2 separate regions of the Homo sapiens genome follow, and region 2 is linked to region 1. The links are contacts of gene promoters, found by promoter capture Hi-C in blood cells and fetal thymus (Javierre and others, 2016). All regions are on one chromosome and are shown on one strand. The core of a region is centred on a gene start or on the middle of the fragment in contact, and the rest is flanking DNA. Distances in the headings are between cores, read along the strand shown. Region 1 holds the start of LDLRAD4 (low density lipoprotein receptor class A domain containing 4). Region 2 has its middle 2.7 kb from the start of SEH1L.

Region 1 (3,288 bases), core at 1-2,500:
CCACGGCGGCCCCGGTACCCGCGGCCTGGCCGCGCGCCGGGTCCCCACCGCGGAGTGGGAAGGAGGAGGAGAGACTGGAGGAGTTGGAGACAGACACAGCCGCGGCGCGCAGTCACGGCTGGAGACAGACGGCGGCGACGGCGGCGGGAGGCGGGACACTCCCCCCTCCGGCGACTGGAGGCGGGACACCTCCCCGGCGGCCGCAGCGCCGCGTCCCCTCTCTCCCCGCGCTGAGGCTGCGGACCGGGCCCGGCGGGATTAGCAGGCGAGTGCGTTGGCCCTGCCCGCTCCGCGCGCCGCCGCGGCCGGCCGGGGATCCCCTGCAAGCCACTGAGCCGCTGCCGCCGCTGCAGCCAGACAGGCTGCGGGTGCCTGGGAAAGTGGAAGCAGGGCGGGGAGCGCGGGGGAGGCCCGGGGGTGAGGTCCTCAGCTCTTAAAGAACCCCGGCGCGCCGCGCTCCCCGCCGGCCCGCCGCGCGCCCCCTGCCGCGCCCCGCACAGCGCCCCTCCCCCTGGCCAGCAGGGCCGGTGGCCGCGGAGCCGCACTGCGGGCAGTCCCCGCCTCCGCTCCGGGGGGGCGGCCCAGGTGAGTGCGGACCCGAGGTGGCCGCAGTGGTCGGGGCTTCTGGCCCAAGTTCACCGCTGCGCTCCGGAGGGAGGGGTGGCGGGGGACTCGGGAACCGGACGCTTTGGGAACTGGACGTCCGCGAGCCTGCGCCGTCGGCTGGGGCCGGAGGGAGAAGCTGGGCGCCGAGCGCGCGAGGTCTGTGAGGCTTGGTCCGGGTGGGCTTGCCGGTGGGCACGGCGGGGATCCGGGGCTGGCCCGCGGGCGGGGTTACGCCGGTGGAGGGACTTCGCCGACCCCCACCCCGTTTTCTGTTTCCTGGTGCCCTGGGGCGCAGGGTGTCCCGCGGTTGCAAGACTGAATTCTGCACCGCCCGGAGGCCAGGATGGGCGCGCGGATGGCAGCCCCAACTGTCTCCGCGCCCCTAGGCCTCGGCGAGCCGTGGCGGGCAGGGACTGGAGGTCAGCGGGAAGCGGGAAGATCCTGCAGGACCTGACCGGGGAGTTTGCGGGAAGGAGGGGGCGGGCCAAGCCCCGCAGCCCCTCAGTCCCGCATCCTGCACCGCGCGCTCCCCGGCCCCGGCCCCTCGGGCCCGCTTCACCCGGCGTCCCCCCGGGTCCCCCCGCGCGCGTTGACGTCGGTCGCGGGACCGCCCGGAGCTCCCGGCATTGGCTGGGAAGTCGATTGTCTGGGGCTGCTGCTGTTGCACTTAGGCTGGGTCTCCGAGCCCCGGAGGAAGCAGGCGTGTGTTGAATTTCTCTCTGCCCCTCACCTTGGAATAAACAGGAAGCGACAAGCACCCAGCCCGGCCCGGCACTTGCCTTTGTGAAGGGGTCTGCCCTGCACAGCCTTTAGGAAGCTTCCTCGGGACCCCTTCCCGGTGCGCCGCCCCGGGTGGGCCTGGGGGCGCGCCCTGTGAGTACACCGGTGGAAGACAGTGGGTTCGGTTTAGGTTAAATCGCTATCGTGGCGGAGAGGGCATTTGCTTGTTTAAACTTTTTTTTTTTTTTTTTTAATTGGAAAAGGAGAAGGTTTCCCGATGAGGCAGAGGTTTTCAGGACGACAGGGACGCATGGTGGGTGGGCGGCACTGGGGGAAGGCGCATCCGAGAGTACAGCGTTCTTGGGTCACCTACCTGGAGGGACACCTCGTCGCCAGTCAGGGCAGCTAGAAGCTCTTTAAAGCAAGCAGGACTCCTTAGCTCTGCCCAGGCACAGGAATGGTTGCTGTGTGCCCATAGCCGCATGAACTAGCATGATTTTTGTTTTTCCCCCAAAATTTTTTAATTAGCTAGAATTAGATAATTTTGATTTGCTTCTTTTCTTTTCCTCTGTGTCTTGGTCTATTCCCTTCTCTTTTTCTCTTTTCTAATTATTTTGGCATCTTCTCATCCCCGGACCAGCGCTGCTTTCTAAATGTTAATTACCATTGCAATACATATTTATTGAGGGCCTACTATGTGTTAGGCATTGTAGGATGTGAGGTAAGAGTAGCTGCACAGAATGTGGGTTCTGAGCGCTAGTATTAGTAAGTTATTTGCAGTAGAGGTGGATAGAGATGGTGAGCAGCATTGACTCTCAAAAATAGGGTCCTATGGCTGGTAAGGAGGTTGGTGCCTTCTCGAAGGGCTAGTGCTGGGAAGCTTCCTTTTAAAAACGGCCCTTTCTGCCGGTTTGGCTAGCCAAGAATGGCATCCTCCTCTCTGTATCTTCCCTGGAGCTTCAGGACTGAGTATTGAATGACAGAGAAGGTTCTGCAAAGTCTGCACAGGGAGACTGCCATTGCATCAAGTCATGTCTGCATTCTGTATATGGTATTGTCTTTTCTAGTCTTTAACTCGAGTGTGTTGTCATCTGTAACTCTCCCTTTGTACTCTGCACAATTCTTCTGGAATATAGTCTTTGTGTTCAGTCAAGGATCAGAGTGTCAAATCTGAGTCATTACATAGACAAATGAGGATGTCTGAGTATTACCCATGTATATTTATTGAATTATATTTGGTTTCCCATCAACCCTTGAAATGTTATTTGATGGACCTTTCTAAGCAGTGCTTTTTAAAACAGGGGGCTAACTTCCTTATGATCTTTGAAAGCTTAATTCTTTTTAAGAGCTTCATTTTGCTATTGACATTGAACACAGTGTTAGGAATTAGGGCTGGGAATGTAAATGCCAGTAAGGGATTTGCTGTAATGGAATTGTAGCTACCTTCCTCCCTTGTTTTAAATGACCTCTCTAATTTCTTAACATTCTGCTGTTACCCTTGGAAGGGCTTGCCATTGTTGGCCATGGTCCTGGTTCGTGTAGGTTTGTATTTACATTGGAGAAGACTCTTCCCGGCAGGTTTTTAGGGCTGTCTCTTGAATCCTCTCATGGGCTTGGTTTGCAAGACCACAATCCTGCAGTGGAACGCAGCCAGTGCCAGCTGCTTATTAAGGGATTTTGTGCCAATTTGTTGGCACATTATTTGAGACTCCTGCACCCCACCCTACTCCCACTGGAGTATATACATACATAGACAAATATTTATTTTCCCCCAACTGCTGACAGTGTTCTAAGAATAGTTTTCTTGCCTGGCACGCGGAGAGCAAGGGCCCGTCTGCAGAGGTGTTTACAGTTTGGGACTGTGCTGTAGTCTTGGTTGACTTAGCAGCCTGGCAGACCAGCCTCATAGCTCCTGGGACGCTCTCTGTTTTTGCTCTGGGCTGCTGCAGGGGTAACCTCCCT
Region 2 (3,288 bases), core at 421-2,920, 270 kb before region 1:
TTAACATATATAACTCTATATTAATAAGTTTAAATATTTCAGTGAAATGGCTGATTATTTATTTATTTGAGACAGTGTCTCACTCTGTCGCCCAGGCTGGAGTGCAGTGGCACGATTTCAGCTCACTGCAACCTCTGCCTCCTGGGCTCAAGTGATCCTCTTCCTGCCTCAGCCTCTTGAGTAGCTGAAATACAGGCGTGCACCACCACACCTGGCTAATTTGTTTTCTGTAGAGACGAGGGCTCACTATGTTGCCCAGGCTGGTCTTGAACTCCTGAGCTCAAGCAATGCTTCTACTTCGGCCTCACAAAGTGCTGAGATTACAGGCATGAGCCACCATGCCCAGCACAAAATGGCTGATTTTTTAAAGGAAGATATAAATGATCAAAATTGTCTTGACAAAAGGTAAAAAATCTGAAGAGGCCATGAATAAAATAATTTTAAAAGGTAGTTAAAATTAACTATACCTATCATCACCCAAGGCATGAGGCTGATAAAATTTTGTGAACGTCATCTACAAAATCTTCACGGAATCTTCTACAAAATCTTCATAGGAATCTTTCAGTTCCTATGCTATTTAAACTGGCGCAGAGCAGGAAAAAAAATGTGAAAGCTTCTTAACTCATTGTAGGTTATTTATTTATTTATATTTTTGAGATGGAGTCTCGCTCTGTTGCCCAGGCTGGAGTGCAGCGGTGCAATCTCAGCTTACTGCAACCTCTGCCTCCAGGGTTAGAGCGATTCTCCTGCCTCAGCCTCCTGAGTAGCTGAGATTACAGGCGCTCACCAACACGCCCAGCTAATTTTTGTATTTTTAGTAGAAACGGGGTTTCACCATGTTGGCCAGGCTGGTCTTGAACTCCTGACCTCAAGTGATCTGCCCGCCTCAGCCTCCCAAAATGTTGGGATTACAGGTGTGAGCTGCCACGCCCAGCCTTCACTGTAGGTCGTATTCTTTCCAGAATATGAACTGGAAACCTCCAAGCTTGTTTTTCCAGACTCTTATTAGCTCTCTATTTCTAGTTAGGTTCTGAATTGAGAGACAGTAGGGGATTCAGATGCAGGAGGAAGAAGACCTTTTCTCCAATTTGTGGAGGCAGCTCACATAGCTGAGTAGTGGTGGTGGTGGCAATGGGTGAGCCTGGCTTCCTGCTCGGGGGTGATGTGAACAGCAGCAGTAGCAGCAGCACTCAGCCCTAGCTCCAGCAGTACTAGCAGAGGCTCCAGGAACCTCAGCTGTTCAGAGCTTGTGGGCTCCCATGGCTGTTACTCTGTTGGACGCCTGCAGTGTAAGCTGGAGTATTGGCTCCTGGCTTTCTGCCTGCTGGTGGTAAAGGTGCCAATGTCAGCAGCCTCAGAGTCAATGATGGTAGCACTGGGTAAAACTATTTTCCCTTTCACGCTCCCAGCCCAGAGTTTCCCGTAGTTACTAGTCTCTGGGTAATCTCACATGTTCCCTTTTTGCTCTTAATTAACCCCTTGGATATATATGTAACCAGTTTCCTGTGTTAAATTCTCTCTCTCTTTTTTTTTTTTTTTTGAGATAGTGTCTCCCTGCGTTGCCCAGGATGGAGTCCTGTGGCACAATCTCGGTTCCACCACCACTCCTGGGGCATTTTTTTGTATTTTTATTTTGTATTTTTAGTAGAGAAGCGGGTCTCGCCACGTTGCCCAGGCTGGTCTTGAACTCCTGAGCTCAGATAATCTGCCCGTCTCGGCCTCCCAAAGTGCTGGATTACAGGGTAATTTAGCCACCAGGCCTGGCTGACACGACCACTTTGGAAGACAGTTTGTAAGTTTCTTATAAAACCAGGCCAGGCACAGTGGCTCATGCCTGTAATCCAAGCACTTTGGGAGGCCAAGGCAAGAGGATCGCTTGAGCCCAAGAGTTTGAGACCAGCCTGCTCAACATGGTGAAACCCCATCTCTGCAAAAAACAGAAAAATTAGCTGGGTGTGGTGGCACTGTGCCTGTAGTCCCAGCTGCTCGGGAGGCTGAGGTGGGAGGATCATCTGAACCCAGGGAATTTAAAGCTGCAGTGAGCCACGATTGTCTGCCATGACAGAGTGAGACCCTGTCTCAAAAAACAAAACAAAACCCCAAAAAACAAAACTAAACTTACTCTTACAATATGATCCAGCAATCATGCTTCTTGGTATCTACCCAAAGGAGTTGCGAACATGTCCACACAAAAACCTGTACACAGATGTTTGTAGGAGCTTTATTGATAATTGCCCAAACACAGAAACAACCAGAATGCCCTTTAGTTGGGGAATGAATAAACACTGTTACAGCCTGACAATGGAATATTATTCAGCACTAAAAAGAAATGAACTCTCAAGACAAGACATGGAGAAAGCTTAAATGCATATTACTATAAGGAAAGAAGCCAATCTGAAAAGGCTAGCCACTCCAAGATTCCCATTATATGCCATTCTGGAAAAGTCAAAACCATGCAGTCAGTGGAAAGATCAGCGGTTGCCAGGTGTTGTCGGAAGAAAGGGATGAACAGGAGCACTAAGGATTTTCAGGGCAGTCAAACTATTCCGCGTGATACTATAATGGTGGATCCATGTCATTATATATTTGCCAAAACCCACAGAATAAAACACCAAGAGTGAACCCTAATGCAAACTCTGAATTTTGGGTGATAATGATGTGTCAATGTAGGTTCACTGATCATAACAAAGGTACCACTTTGGTATGGGATGTTGACAGTGGAGGATGCTGTGCATGTGTGACAGTAGGGGTACATACGGGAACTCTATTTTCTGCTCAATTTTGCTGTGAACCTGAAAGTGTTCTAAAAACTAAAGTCTATTTTAAAAAATCCACTGTTTCACCTAATTCAACACTTCACTCCCACTCTGATAATCTCTGGCAACCAATGATCTGTTTACTGTCTGTATTTAAATTTAATTAAAACAATTTTTAAACTGTTTTGATATTTTTATAATAATCAATATATTTTGATTGGACTTTTATAGTGAGCACTTTCTTTGGAAATGAGTGTCTTTGACCTTCAAAAAAGTTATAGTTGTTATCAGTTATCATAAGAGGTGGGGCCCACCTCTTAAAGTAGCAATAAAATCTTATTTATGGTTGAAAAAGGTCAGGTCATTGCGCCACTTCTCTTTGCAGGTTTCTGTGCAATCCATCAGGGGACAGCTGGGACTAATCATTTAAAAAACTTTCCAGCCTGCTAATTTTACCATACCTCACATTTTTGTCATTCCTGGCCAAAATCCAAAGGGCAAGTCCCTTCTGCAGCCTCATTTTTTTTTTTTC

The links. Contacts are between HindIII fragments. The CHiCAGO score rates a contact against its expected background, and 5 or more counts as called.
Region 2: a fragment that was not itself captured here is called in contact with the fragment with the promoter of LDLRAD4 in region 1 in 1 of 17 cell types (fetal thymus); the score reaches 7.5 in fetal thymus.

What each region holds. Positions count from the first base shown.
Region 1 is chr18:13,217,510-13,220,797 of GRCh38, forward strand. It overlaps LDLRAD4 (low density lipoprotein receptor class A domain containing 4), which reads left to right and starts at 1,251. Exons shown (of 7, transcript NM_001378100.1): 1 at 1,251-1,479. RefSeq lists a silencer at 42-411. The HindIII fragment of the contact is 2,786 bases long and covers 1-1,421 here.
Region 2 is chr18:12,943,658-12,946,945 of GRCh38, forward strand. No RefSeq gene overlaps it. Among named protein-coding and RNA genes, the nearest start is that of SEH1L, 2.7 kb to the right of the region's middle. The HindIII fragment of the contact is 1,374 bases long and covers 984-2,357 here.